Linked DNA regions of Homo sapiens: all the other regions are linked to region 4. The links are contacts of gene promoters, found by promoter capture Hi-C in blood cells and fetal thymus (Javierre and others, 2016). All regions are on one chromosome and are shown on one strand. The core of a region is centred on a gene start or on the middle of the fragment in contact, and the rest is flanking DNA. Distances in the headings are between cores, read along the strand shown.

Evidence for each region. The method cuts DNA at HindIII sites, captures the fragments that hold promoters and counts their contacts. A CHiCAGO score of 5 or more calls a contact.
Region 1: a contact is called between a fragment that was not itself captured here and the fragment with the promoter of NCOA2 in region 4, in 1 of 17 cell types (neutrophils). The highest score is 5.8, in neutrophils.
Region 2: a contact is called between a fragment that was not itself captured here and the fragment with the promoter of NCOA2 in region 4, in 2 of 17 cell types (neutrophils and total B cells). The highest score is 6.1, in neutrophils.
Region 3: a contact is called between a fragment that was not itself captured here and the fragment with the promoter of NCOA2 in region 4, in 3 of 17 cell types (neutrophils, M0 macrophages and M1 macrophages). The highest score is 9.1, in neutrophils.
Region 5: a contact is called between a fragment that was not itself captured here and the fragment with the promoter of NCOA2 in region 4, in 1 of 17 cell types (naive B cells). The highest score is 5.8, in naive B cells.

Annotation. Positions count from the first base shown.
Region 1 is chr8:69,728,820-69,731,519 of GRCh38, forward strand. All of the region lies in intron 5 of SLCO5A1 (solute carrier organic anion transporter family member 5A1), which reads right to left. Among named protein-coding and RNA genes, the nearest start is that of SLCO5A1-AS1, 100 kb to the right of the region's middle. The HindIII fragment of the contact is 6,128 bases long and covers 1-2,700 here.
Region 2 is chr8:69,754,862-69,757,561 of GRCh38, forward strand. SLCO5A1 (solute carrier organic anion transporter family member 5A1) reads right to left here. Exons shown (of 10, transcript NM_030958.3): 4 at 563-780. Among named protein-coding and RNA genes, the nearest start is that of SLCO5A1-AS1, 78 kb to the right of the region's middle. The HindIII fragment of the contact is 1,093 bases long and covers 706-1,798 here.
Region 3 is chr8:69,676,530-69,679,229 of GRCh38, forward strand. SLCO5A1 (solute carrier organic anion transporter family member 5A1) reads right to left here. Exons shown (of 10, transcript NM_030958.3): 9 at 80-144. Among named protein-coding and RNA genes, the nearest start is that of SLCO5A1-AS1, 160 kb to the right of the region's middle. The HindIII fragment of the contact is 3,970 bases long and covers 1-2,700 here.
Region 4 is chr8:70,402,499-70,405,267 of GRCh38, forward strand. It overlaps NCOA2 (nuclear receptor coactivator 2), which reads right to left and starts at 1,310. Exons shown (of 23, transcript NM_006540.4): 1 at 1,202-1,310. RefSeq lists silencers at 1-566, 597-886, 927-1,236, 1,927-2,086 and an enhancer at 1,707-1,826. The HindIII fragment of the contact is 4,231 bases long and covers 1-2,602 here.
Region 5 is chr8:69,658,679-69,661,378 of GRCh38, forward strand. It overlaps SULF1 (sulfatase 1), which reads left to right. Exons shown (of 23, transcript NM_001128205.2): 23 at 1-2,234. Among named protein-coding and RNA genes, the nearest start is that of SULF1, 170 kb to the left of the region's middle. The HindIII fragment of the contact is 267 bases long and covers 1,266-1,532 here.

The DNA.
Region 1 (2,700 bases), core at 178-2,677, 670 kb before region 4:
TTAACATTTGAAGTGCAAACATCAGTATAATCTCATGACTTTTTTTAATTAGAAAAAGTCCAGAAACAATGACGATCTTGTAGCAATGAGCAATGGGCAACCCGAGTGTCCAGATGATGGTGTCCAAGTACCATTTTCCTGTCAAAGAAACCAAGATTCCTTGCAGATATACGACTGATCCGAGGTCCAGGGCAGGAAATGTGGAAGGTAAGTGAGTCACCTTTTGTCATGACAGAAACCACAAAGACTACTGAGGTAGAGCCAAAGGACACAGGTACTGACTTTAAGGGGCTCCCAATGGCCAAAGATTGGGCAACTGGAGCATCAAAAAGAATGATAACTGCGCCCGGTGCAGTGGCTCACGCCTGTAATCCCAGCACTTTGGGAGGCCGAGGCAGGCGGATCACGAGGTCAGGAGATGGAGACCATCCTGGCTAACATGATGAAACCCCGTCTCTACTAAAAATACAAAACATTAGCCGGGCGAGGTGGAGGGCGCCTGTAGTCCCAGCTACTTGGGAGGCTGAGGCAGGAGAATGGCATCAACCCGGGAGGCGGAACTTGCAGTGAGCCGAGATCGTGCCACTGCAGTCCGGCCTGGGCGAAAGAGCGAGACTCCGTCCCAACAAAAAAAAAAAAAAAAAAAAAAAAAAGATAACTGCAATGGAGTAAAGCACATCAAACACCTAAAAATGAGTTAATAATACTTTTAACAAATTATTGGCCACTATATAAATTTGCTAGAATATAAATTTTTACTCTGAAAACTAGTAAATAAAGAGAAAGAATCATATAAGAAATTACGGTCATTGGGGGAACTGGCCAAACAAGAAGCTGGTCATTTGGCGAACTGATTTGGAATAATTCAAAGAGAGAGAGAGAGAGCGTGTGTGTGTGTGAGAGAGAGATTCGTAATATGCTGCAAGCATGGACATCCCTCCCTAAGACTCCTTACTGTCTCCCGCCCCAGAAAGTTTCCACTACTTTACTCCTATGATCAAGATGAAAATAGTCACCTCTTACCATTTTATATGACTGTATTACCTCTCTTCGCGGGTGGGATTTAACAAAAAGCCTTCCAATTACCACTGTAAAGTAGACCAATACAATTTGTTTTAAAATCAGAAAACCTAACAAGATTTCCTAAAGGAAATTTAAATTTAGCACAGTTTCATAAAAGAAAAAGAGGAGAAACTGATTTTTCTTGATTATCTACTGTATACCAAATGCTTTAAGATCTAATTAGCTCACTTAATATTTTACAGTAGCCCTGGGGAATGATCACTCACATTTTACAAATGAGAAACTGAGACTCTGAGTGGGTAAGCAACTTGGCTAAAAGCCTACATCTAGTTAAGTCACAGATCTGGGATTCAGAGAGGTCTGTGTACTACATTAGGCTGCCCACAGCAAAACAAAACAGATAATATTGATTCTGGACATGGCCAGAGTTTGTGGGGATGCAACATTACTACAAATACCAGAGTGATGAATTGGTTAGTAACTAGTCCCTTTTAAGAAAACAATATAACTCTATAGGGAAGGTAAGAATAAATGTGTATTTGGTACACAGGGTTTTGGGAAAGTTATTTAATCTAAGATTTTAGGGAAGGAAGAATTATAGAGTTCATTTCAGTTCAAGTTATTGTTTTCTAGACTAGAAAACAGACCTGGAGAGAAAAACACTGTCCACCTTATGTACTGCGAAAGCCCTGGGAGTCCCTGCGAGGAGTAACTACACAGGCCTGGAATTAGCCTGAGCTGTCTTGCCAAATCATCAACGTGCATCTGTAGGGCACTGACTCCTAGTCAAGGCACAAAACATGTTCATGAACAGTGTTGCCTTATAACTATGGGTCCTAAGTGGTTGAGGATGGTTTGTACCAGCTTGTCAGCATTGTTTATTGACAAAAATGAGCATGAACTCTGTAATTTCTTCCTTCTCTAAAATCTTAGATTAAATCATTTTTCCAAACATGCTCATTTCATGTTTATTGTAACCAGTCTCACTAAGACCCCTGGAGAGCTCGGCTGTTGAAACTGGTTACATAGCAGGAATCTATGGGGCCAAGAAAATACTAAAAATATTCAAGCATGTGAGATGGCTTGAATATAAAAATATTCAAGCATGTGAGATGGCCTGTGGCTGCAAAGTATTAGGTTGGTGCAAAAGTAATTGCAATTTTTTTTTTTTTTGAGATGAAGTCTGGCTCTATTGCCCAGGCTGGAGTGCAGTAGCACAATCTCGGCTCACTACAACCTCTGCCTCCCAGGTTCAAGTGATTCTCATGCCTCTCAGCCTCCCAAGTAGCTGGGATTATAGGCACGTGTCACCACGCCTGGCTAATTTTTGTATTTTTTGTAGAGACGGGGTTTCGCCATGCTGGCCAGGCTAGTCTCAAACTTCTGACCTCAAGTGATCCACCTGCCTCAGCTACCCAAAGTGCTGGGATTACAGGCATGAGCTACCACACCCAGCCAGTAATTGCAGTTTTTGTCATTACTTTCAACAGCAAAAACCGCAATTACTTTTGCACCAACCTAATCATCTTTACTTTAATGCTGATGCCATGTAGTATCCTTTCCTGCAAGAAATGCCAATGTGTTTCTTATCATTTTGGGTCATCTGAGTCTTAAAAACATTGTTAAAGAGCAATTGAACCCTGTTTAACTGCCATTAGAGCACTGGCTAAGAACCTG
Region 2 (2,700 bases), core at 2-2,501, 650 kb before region 4:
CTGGGGCCACATGCAAGCATTTGACAGAGCTGCTAAGTGAGATCCCTTTCTAGTGGTAGGTATTATACTTATGTAGGCATCAAACCACACTGCCAAAGCCACTATTCCCCTGAAATAAACCCTCCATGGCACAATGCACTTGATTTTTAATATTTTAAAAATCAGACATCTCTAATTATAGTAAATAACATATATAGACATCTGTTTCTTTATGATCTAAATCAGTGCTTCTCAAACTGTGTGTGAGGAAAAACCATTTTTTTAAATTATTATTTCTAGTCTGTCATCTACTAATACTTTTGCAAAATACACAAATGATGAATTATTTAAAAATTAATTTTTAAATAACATACAAAATATAACCTTAATTTTTAAATTATTCTTAGATGCAACAGGCAAAAAAATTACTCTGTCAAGTTTCTAAGAGTTTTGCAACACTTACTCTCAATCTTAGTACTTATCTGGCCACAGACAGTGGGTAGACAGCATGGGCCTGGGACCACACTATGAGTAGCACTGATCAAAGTGCCATGCATGTATTTATTCAAGAGGTATACTTTACCTCTGACATCCTTTCCAAATCCCATCGAAGAAACTTTTTTGTCCGCTTGTTCACTGTTGTTTGATTTCTCCTTCAGAACATCGTCATCACTAACAGCATCAACAGAAAATTTTTTCTTTTTCTTTTTCTTGTGTCGAGGTGGAAGCTTTTTTGGGAAAGTAAACATTGGGAATATCACAAGAAACATTGCAATGGCACAAAGGAGGAATCCACTCCACCTAAAAAATTGGAAAATGTGAATAGCATTTACGTCTTTTCTTTTGTGAGTGAGAACAAATTAGTAAAGCAGAAGTTTGTGGTGAAAAAATTTTGAAGAAAACTTTTTGTAATCAACTGTAAAGCAGTAGGAAGTTGAGCAAACTAAGAAAATGAAGGAATTCTCTCTTTCTGTGATATAAATGAGAAATCTACTCAATAATTATACCAGTGTTATACTGAATATTATAATCAGCAACCTGATTCGAATTTCATTCAAGTATTTTTGAGCACCAATGAGTTAGTTCTGCTAGCATTGCTAACCTTCTACAATGTGTATTTTATGATAAATCCCTAAATTATAAATTCAATAGAAAAATAATGTAGACAATAGCATGTTATGTGGACCAATATAGACTTTTTTTTGTCATAAGAAAAGCATTAATATCCCATGTGAAATATGTTTTAAATTATTGAGAATATTCAAATATTTTTCTGCAAACACTTAAGAATGTATTGACCCAGCTGGGCGCGGTGACTCACACCTATAATCCCAGCACGTTGGGAGGCTGAAACAGGAGTTTGAGACCAGCCTGGCCAACATGGTGAAACCCTGTCTCTACTAGAAATACAAAAATTAGCCAGGTGTGGTGGTGGGCACCTGTAATCCCAGCTACTCGGGAGGCTGAGGCAGGAGAATCACTTGAACTTGGGAGGCGGATGTTGCAGTGAGCAGAGATCAGGCCACTGCACTCCACACTCCAGCCTGGGTGACAGAGCAAAACTTAAAAAAAATAAAAAGAGAATGTATTGCCTCCCACTTAGCTGGCCTTCACAATACTTCACCAAGTATGAGGGTTACCAACAAAGACATTTAAACTTAGTCCTTGCCTTCAAGAACCTACAACCTGTTCATAAGCAAGCCAAAAATATAAGAAACCTCTAAGAAATGCAAAATGTATATAATTAAATATTAGGTTATATGGTACAGATTATGAGTGCTACCAAAATTCAGAGAGGGGAAATTAATGTGTATCGGAAAGCTTCCTAAAAGAAGTAGAACAGGAGCTATTAGACTCAGAATTCTGTCGTGAAATTCACCTGAGATTGCCACGTTGCAGAGCACTAGGAAGCAAACACAGGGAGTAGAATGAAATTGTAGTATTAGAGCCCTGGGCTTCTTGACTGCATGATGCCCCGTGGGGCAATTTCTCAGTTCCCTTTCAACATTTCCTTAGCAATCAGAGGTCCCTGGCACTCCCTAACAGGGTAGCCACGTTCTAACTATGATTCCTCACCTCCAAACTCTGCCATTCAAGCTTCCAAGTTCATAAATGCTCAACACATTCCCATCAACTGTAACCAGAATGCAAGCAGCATCATAAGTATTAACGCTGAATTCAATCAGGTAAGACTATAGATCCATTGCAAAGTGAAAATTCATTTTTTAAAATAATGTTTCTATTAAAGTGCTGTTATCAGCTGCTAAAGGTCACAGTTGAGAGAATGATTCCTACAATTAGTCATTAATAATTTAGTGTGCTATTTTCAAAGATATTTAAAGTTACATCAAATGAAGATTTTAAGATAGTCAGTAAAGGGCTTTATTTTGAGAAGTTTGTTCGGGGCAGACTTCCAGCAATCTCAGTTATTCAGAATGTAATCACCAGCCCAGTGCCTGACACAGATTAGGTACTCAAAAAAACATGCTGAATAAATAAATTGAAAGAGACAGTTTTAATTTTAAAAATGTCAGCTGGTTACGGTGGCTCATGCCTGTAATCCCAGCACTTTGGGTGGATCACCTGAGGTGTAATCCCAGCACCGAGATGGGTGGATCACCTGAGGTCAGGAGTTTAAGACCAGCCTGCCCAACATAGTGAAACCCCATCTCAACTAAAAATACAAAAATTAGCCAGGCATGGTGGCAAGTGCCTGTAATC
Region 3 (2,700 bases), core at 88-2,587, 730 kb before region 4:
TGCCATTTTTAAAGGACAGTGAAAATTTGCCATCTGCAAAGAGGAACTAAGAGGTACACTTGGAAATTCAGGGACGTACCAAGTGTTCGCAACAAAACAAACTGCATTCCCAGTGCAAAAGGTCTCTCCTCATCTTCTACGGACCTACAGTGAAGGGAAAGAAGGAAATGCATTTTAAATAGTAGCCCCAAGAAAATGAATGTCAAATCAAGTCGGCTTTGTGCAGAGCCAGGGACTAAAGATGCCATGCCAAAATATTTAATTCACTATTATTTACTAACAATAGCCACACAAGATTGCTGGTGGCTAAATCCCTGAATAAAGGTTTTCCCAATGTAGACATCAAAGAAACTCTGACTATCTCTAATTGTTTCTACAAAAATACTGGTAGAGGGTTAAAGGCTTTTGGCTGAAGAAGCTGGAATGCCTCTAACTGAGCTTCCAAAATCAGATCCATTTTTTTTTAATTATAGAATTTCATCTTAAATACTGCACGGTTTTTTTGTTTTTGTTTTTGTTTTTGTTTTTTTGCCTGTGTGCCTGCATCTTCCAGAGTGGTAGATGCATACATTGAAAATTACTCCAATAATTCTTCCAAAACAGGAAGAAAGAAGAGTAAAGAATAAAAGTATATTCAAAAAATGTATAGGAAACAAGTCAAAGATCAGAGGAAGCATAAGCCCTCCAACCACATCTTTTTTTCTTTTTTAAAAACTTATACTCCAAGTTATTCCCATGTGACAGGAAGATTGGAGTCAACTGGTTCTGTAATTAGCAAAGATTAAAGGGCTCCTTTTCTGAAATTTTAGGTTAGAAGCCAACTGGCGATTTGCCATTTATGAACACCAAAAGAAAAAGTAGCCAATGGGTTATTTAACATCTCTTGAGGAATTAAAGTGCAAAGAATAAGATTATTTGAGTAAATTTATGAATGATTCATGTCTTTTTAATGCTGCAGTACCTTAACCTCTCCATCACATACCCATGAGAGTATGGTATATAATAGGAACTTTCCCAAGACCAGTGCCCTTGTCACCTTTTCCCCAATTTCTTTATTTCTCAGAGCAATTTGCAAAGTGCTGCACACAGGTTGTTATTCCATAAATATCTGCTGCTGGAAGAACTGAGTAAACAAACCAGTGGGCCTTTCATGCACTACTATCTGGCTGTCAAGGAACAGCTTTGCTGGGAAATGCCTGATTCAGCACCAAGTGGGAAGGAAGCCAGAATACATCTGGTGCAGCCAACTGCCCTTGCTAAGCAATGACATCTCAGCAGGTGCTTCCTGCAAGGTGCCCAGCATTGTGGCATCTGAGGAGCCTGGAGAAAGAGTAAGAACTGACTCCCTTTCTTCATTCCTTCCCTGCACTGCACCCCCTAATCCCCCCTAATCCCCTTCCCTGCACTGCACCCCCTAATCTGGGCAGAAGCTGCCCAGACCCATGGGTGAGCTCTTCTGGCTTCACCACGCTGCCCAGTTCCTTTGTCCACTGCAGTCCTTACTGTAAATATCAACACACCGATGTGAATGTATCAGCGTGGCAGGCCTCCATAACAACTGTTTCAGTACAGACTGAGTGTTTAAGTTAAATATTAAAAGCCAGTGCCCTTATACAAATGCTGGAATGTAACAAAAGTCCACCAAGAATTTTGCCTAAGTCTTTCCTGGGCCTTAAAGCACGACAAAATAATGAACAAATTCTTAACAGGATCCATTTAGGATTAAACAAGTTTTATTGGGGGTCTGAAAAAACTCCCTAGGCCTCCATAAACAGGTTTATTGGGGGTCTGAAGGAACTCCCCAAACCTCCGTGATTTAGCAGGAGACAAGATAAGGGTAATCACCCCAGCACCTGGACCCATTTAGATTAAGTAAACTTACTGAGGCTCCAGAAGAAGGTCTTCAAGATTCAGATCTTAGTTATAAATTAAAAGAAATTAATCACTTATGTCTTTAGATGAATGCACACTTACACGTAGACAGATAGCTTAGAATGTATATAAGCTCTAATAAACTTTGTAATTTTGAGTTGGTCTGGTGTTTATTTCCAGGCCTTCTCCCTGTAACTGGTTACAGAAATAAAAACCCTCTTCCTCCCCTGTTCATCTGTATCACGTTATTGCAGTGCAAAAAAATAGCAGCCCGACCATCATTTTGGTCCAGGAACACCAGTGCCAACATTTTTAATAGGACAAAAGTAGCTTCCATGTCCTCTTATAAACAAAAAATCCAAACAAGATATGGCAAAGAAAGCACAGCCTGAAAAACTGAAAAAAAAAAAAAGGGAGAAATCACATTCCCCAATATGCCCTTTTCTTGACTCAACTCTGAAATTTTATATGATAGTAAAATTAATGAACTCAGCATTTCAAATTGCAGGCCCAGCATAAATCACCACTGATCCTGAAGGCAGTAACTATCTATAAGGTTGAAGATAATAGCCTTTGCTGTATGCACGATTTAGCAACTTTCTCAAATTACTTCCTGCCCTCCTCTGGGGTCCAGCTTCTCACAGCTGACAGAGTGATGACTTTCAACTCCTGAAGTTGAACCTCGTAGGGCAGAGACTTCAGGAATCAAAAACATCAAAAGACGTTTCATTATACAGTAAGAATATAACCCAACTGAATAAAGAACTTTCCAAAGTATGAAATGTTACAACCTTTCTTTCCCTTCCCAACAGGGAAAAATCCCTCCTA
Region 4 (2,769 bases), core at 60-2,559:
ACCCCCGGTCTCGGAAGAGGCGCCTCTGGGACTCCCCCGAGGGGAGGAGGCGGGGAGCGCAGCCGGCAGCGACGACCCCGGCCCCCTCCCCCAGCACCCCCCAGGGGCCCGAGAGGGCCGGGTCCCCGTGCCCGGGGCGTGACCGTCGCGAGGCGGCCACAGGGCCCCTCCCGCTTCCCGCCTGGGGCCCCGAGGGCCTGTCCCTTCAGGGGCGGAGAGAAGGGGGCGAGAAAAGGGGGCGCTGGCGAGCCAACCCGGAACCTCCCGGTCCGCCTCCCGCCCCCGGCCCCGGCCCCAGCGCGCCTCCTGCATACACGCCCGCACCCAGAAAGTTCAGTCAGGGGCGAGCCCGGCTCGGCGCCGCCGGGGCCCGGCCCCCGGCTCCCCGCCCCCACCACGGCCCGGCCTGCTCGGCCCCAGCGCGCCGCCCGCCCCGCCCGCCGCAGCTCCTTCCCGTCCGCCCGCGGTGCTCGGCGCCCCTCGCCCCCCACCCCCGGGGCTGACACGGGCCCGGGCCACCCGCCGGGCCGCGGCTCCCCTTCCCCGCCCCGCGCTGCAGCTCGCCGGCCGCCCCGACACCCCGCTTCACCTTCACACACCCCCAGCACTTCCCGAGTCCTGCCTCCCCTCGCCCGGCTCCCACTCTCCGCTGCAGCCGCTCCGCGCTTCCATTAAAGAATGCACCTTCCCAGGATTCACCTTCTCGGCTCTGCCGCGCTGCCCCCGAGGGGTTAGAGCCTCGGTCTCCGCCGACCCCGCACCGGGCTGGGCAATGGGCACTCGCTCCTCGGGGCGGGGGCCGCGCCCGCACCCCCGGCCGCGCCTCGGCGCTCACCTCTCGCCCGCGCCGCGGGCTGCAGCCTCCGCCCGCCTCGCGCTCCGGGACTCGTCTCCTGAGCTCTCGCAAGGCGCTGGAGCGCCTCCTTTCTCTCCCGGGGACTCCGCGTCTCCCCGTCGCTTCCCGCCCTCCCCACCCCCAAGCCCCAACTCCCCAGCGTCGCTGCGCCTCCGGGATGCAACTCCCGTTTTCCGCGCACTCCGGCGGCGGTCCCCGCACACAAAAACAGCCTCTCGGAGGCGCACGGCTCTGTCGGAGCTCGGCGCAGGAAGGGCAGTCGCGGCCGGGGGTGGGGACGCGGCGCCCCCCGCCTGCCGCCCGCCCCCCGCCCGCCCTCGCGGCCCCGGGGGAAGGCGCGGTTACCGGCTCGGGTCGGTCACGCCGTCAGGTGCCGGCTGCCGTCGGCGCTGACCTTCGCCGCCGAAGCTGTAGCCGAGGCTGCGGCCGCCATGTTCCCGTGTTAATAACTGCTGCCTGGTTGTTTATTTCAATGGAGATCCTCCCCCAACTCCCTCCTCCTCCTCCTCCTCCTCCTCCTCCTCCGCGTCTCCGCACTTGCGGAGAGACAGACAGCGCGAGCTCGCGAGCAGGGGAGGGGGCTCGGGAGCCAGGCCGTCCCTCCCTCTGCCTCCCCGGCAGTGGCCGCCGCCAAGTCCTGTCACCGGGAAAAGGACGGGGCGGAAACTTGCCTCTCGCGCCCCCGAGGAAGGGGCAAAGGTGGACGCAGGGTTGTCCGGGGAGCAGCCCCTGGCCGCGGGGTCCGCAGCATCTCCGTCGGCAGAGTCCTCTGAGAAGGCGGCCCGGGGAGAGGTGAAGAAGAGTAAGGGGACAGGGGACAAAATGGGTGACTGTGGTAGAGGGAGGGTGACCTAGAGGTGACTGGAACTGAAGAGAGAGTCAACAGAGGACTGCATGGGAGGGCAAAGGGCAATGCCAAAAAGAAAACTAGCGACTGGGACGGGCCTGGGCCGCTGAGTTAGAGGCAGTGGGGCCTGGGGGCTGCAGACGGCAGGGACGGTGCCCCAGGACGAAGATCGGGGAGAGCCGAGTTCCAGGGTCGCCAGCAGAGGACCCTCGCGCCCGTCCGGCCGGACCCTTCGGCCAGCACCCTGCACCCCCTCGGGCGCACCTCACCCTACCCAACTCCCGGTCCTGCCGCTGCTCCCCGGAGGCGCCCCGCATCCGTCAAGTCCCCTACGGCTCCAACAGGGAGAGGCTTCTCCCATTGCAGTCCTAGCTCCAGAGGGGATGGAGAGGCGCGACTGTGGGAGCTGGAAGGGGCACCACCCGGCAATTGCGGGATAAAGCAAATGCTGCACACAGAGTGTGAAACTTAACCTGGTTGAGAATTTTCGGCACATCATGAAATCATAAGTTTGTATTGGAAAGTCCATTCTCTAGACATCCGTGAACAAAGTACTGAGGGGACGTAGGAGATTGGCACTGAAAATGCGAGAACCCCCATTTAAGTGTTACTTAGACCAATCTGTTTTACGCTTTGGAAAAGCAAGTTTTTTTTCCAACTTATACGGTAATTAGTTGAAAAAAAAAACTTTTGTTTAATGGCAGTTATCAAACTATGAGAGGAACATATTCCCTGATTTTAATCTTATAATGAGAAAGGTCACTTGCGGTAGACAATAAGAGTGTTTATTGAACACTTACTGTGAATCTGACTGTGCTAGGTGATGTATATATGCTATAGGCCTTAATCCTCAAACCTTCCGAAGTCATTGCCGCTTTTCACTTCACACAAAAAATTGAAGCTTAAAGTAATTTGCCCAGGGTCACAGCCAGTAGTTGGAGAGGATGTGAGCCCAGTTCTGGTGAGCTCCAAAGCCCATGCTTTTAAACATGTCTTCATCCTAAAATTTGTGGGTGTACCGCCAATTTTATTTGGGAAAAGAATAAAAAAAATGTGTGGGGTGTGT
Region 5 (2,700 bases), core at 149-2,648, 740 kb before region 4:
TTGCACTGCTGAAGAGTCACTATGAGCAAAATAAAACAAATAAGACTCAAACTGCTCAAAGTGACGGGTTCTTGGTTGTCTCTGCTGAGCACGCTGTGTCAATGGAGATGGCCTCTGCTGACTCAGATGAAGACCCAAGGCATAAGGTTGGGAAAACACCTCATTTGACCTTGCCAGCTGACCTTCAAACCCTGCATTTGAACCGACCAACATTAAGTCCAGAGAGTAAACTTGAATGGAATAACGACATTCCAGAAGTTAATCATTTGAATTCTGAACACTGGAGAAAAACCGAAAAATGGACGGGGCATGAAGAGACTAATCATCTGGAAACCGATTTCAGTGGCGATGGCATGACAGAGCTAGAGCTCGGGCCCAGCCCCAGGCTGCAGCCCATTCGCAGGCACCCGAAAGAACTTCCCCAGTATGGTGGTCCTGGAAAGGACATTTTTGAAGATCAACTATATCTTCCTGTGCATTCCGATGGAATTTCAGTTCATCAGATGTTCACCATGGCCACCGCAGAACACCGAAGTAATTCCAGCATAGCGGGGAAGATGTTGACCAAGGTGGAGAAGAATCACGAAAAGGAGAAGTCACAGCACCTAGAAGGCAGCGCCTCCTCTTCACTCTCCTCTGATTAGATGAAACTGTTACCTTACCCTAAACACAGTATTTCTTTTTAACTTTTTTATTTGTAAACTAATAAAGGTAATCACAGCCACCAACATTCCAAGCTACCCTGGGTACCTTTGTGCAGTAGAAGCTAGTGAGCATGTGAGCAAGCGGTGTGCACACGGAGACTCATCGTTATAATTTACTATCTGCCAAGAGTAGAAAGAAAGGCTGGGGATATTTGGGTTGGCTTGGTTTTGATTTTTTGCTTGTTTGTTTGTTTTGTACTAAAACAGTATTATCTTTTGAATATCGTAGGGACATAAGTATATACATGTTATCCAATCAAGATGGCTAGAATGGTGCCTTTCTGAGTGTCTAAAACTTGACACCCCTGGTAAATCTTTCAACACACTTCCACTGCCTGCGTAATGAAGTTTTGATTCATTTTTAACCACTGGAATTTTTCAATGCCGTCATTTTCAGTTAGATGATTTTGCACTTTGAGATTAAAATGCCATGTCTATTTGATTAGTCTTATTTTTTTATTTTTACAGGCTTATCAGTCTCACTGTTGGCTGTCATTGTGACAAAGTCAAATAAACCCCCAAGGACGACACACAGTATGGATCACATATTGTTTGACATTAAGCTTTTGCCAGAAAATGTTGCATGTGTTTTACCTCGACTTGCTAAAATCGATTAGCAGAAAGGCATGGCTAATAATGTTGGTGGTGAAAATAAATAAATAAGTAAACAAAATGAAGATTGCCTGCTCTCTCTGTGCCTAGCCTCAAAGCGTTCATCATACATCATACCTTTAAGATTGCTATATTTTGGGTTATTTTCTTGACAGGAGAAAAAGATCTAAAGATCTTTTATTTTCATCTTTTTTGGTTTTCTTGGCATGACTAAGAAGCTTAAATGTTGATAAAATATGACTAGTTTTGAATTTACACCAAGAACTTCTCAATAAAAGAAAATCATGAATGCTCCACAATTTCAACATACCACAAGAGAAGTTAATTTCTTAACATTGTGTTCTATGATTATTTGTAAGACCTTCACCAAGTTCTGATATCTTTTAAAGACATAGTTCAAAATTGCTTTTGAAAATCTGTATTCTTGAAAATATCCTTGTTGTGTATTAGGTTTTTAAATACCAGCTAAAGGATTACCTCACTGAGTCATCAGTACCCTCCTATTCAGCTCCCCAAGATGATGTGTTTTTGCTTACCCTAAGAGAGGTTTTCTTCTTATTTTTAGATAATTCAAGTGCTTAGATAAATTATGTTTTCTTTAAGTGTTTATGGTAAACTCTTTTAAAGAAAATTTAATATGTTATAGCTGAATCTTTTTGGTAACTTTAAATCTTTATCATAGACTCTGTACATATGTTCAAATTAGCTGCTTGCCTGATGTGTGTATCATCGGTGGGATGACAGAACAAACATATTTATGATCATGAATAATGTGCTTTGTAAAAAGATTTCAAGTTATTAGGAAGCATACTCTGTTTTTTAATCATGTATAATATTCCATGATACTTTTATAGAACAATTCTGGCTTCAGGAAAGTCTAGAAGCAATATTTCTTCAAATAAAAGGTGTTTAAACTTTTTTCTGTTTCAGAGAAATGAACTTAACCAAGTTTTTGTGGTACACCCATTTCTTGCAAGTAAAATTGAGTCATGATCTCTATTTACATGATTGAATACTAACCAAACTTATAAAATGGAGCTGAAGTCAATGTGTTATAGAACGTTCTCAGATTAACAACTTCACCACGGATTTACCTCATTGCTGTCTTGAGGGAGGCAGCAGAGGCAGCGCCAAGGTAGCTTTCCCGGCAGGCAACCTAGATGGTCACAAAGGGCCAGCACTTGGTTTAATGCTCTGATGTCACCGCCTTGAAATCCTTAATAATTTTTTAACAAGGGGCCCCACATTTTCATTTTCCACGGGGGCCCTGCAAATCAGGTCTGGGCAGAACCAAAAATGGTTCTGGGCAGTAAAATGGAATTTTTCAAAACCAAGAGAACAGACCCACTGAAGGCAGTGTCGGTTCTTCAGGAACCAGGAACTT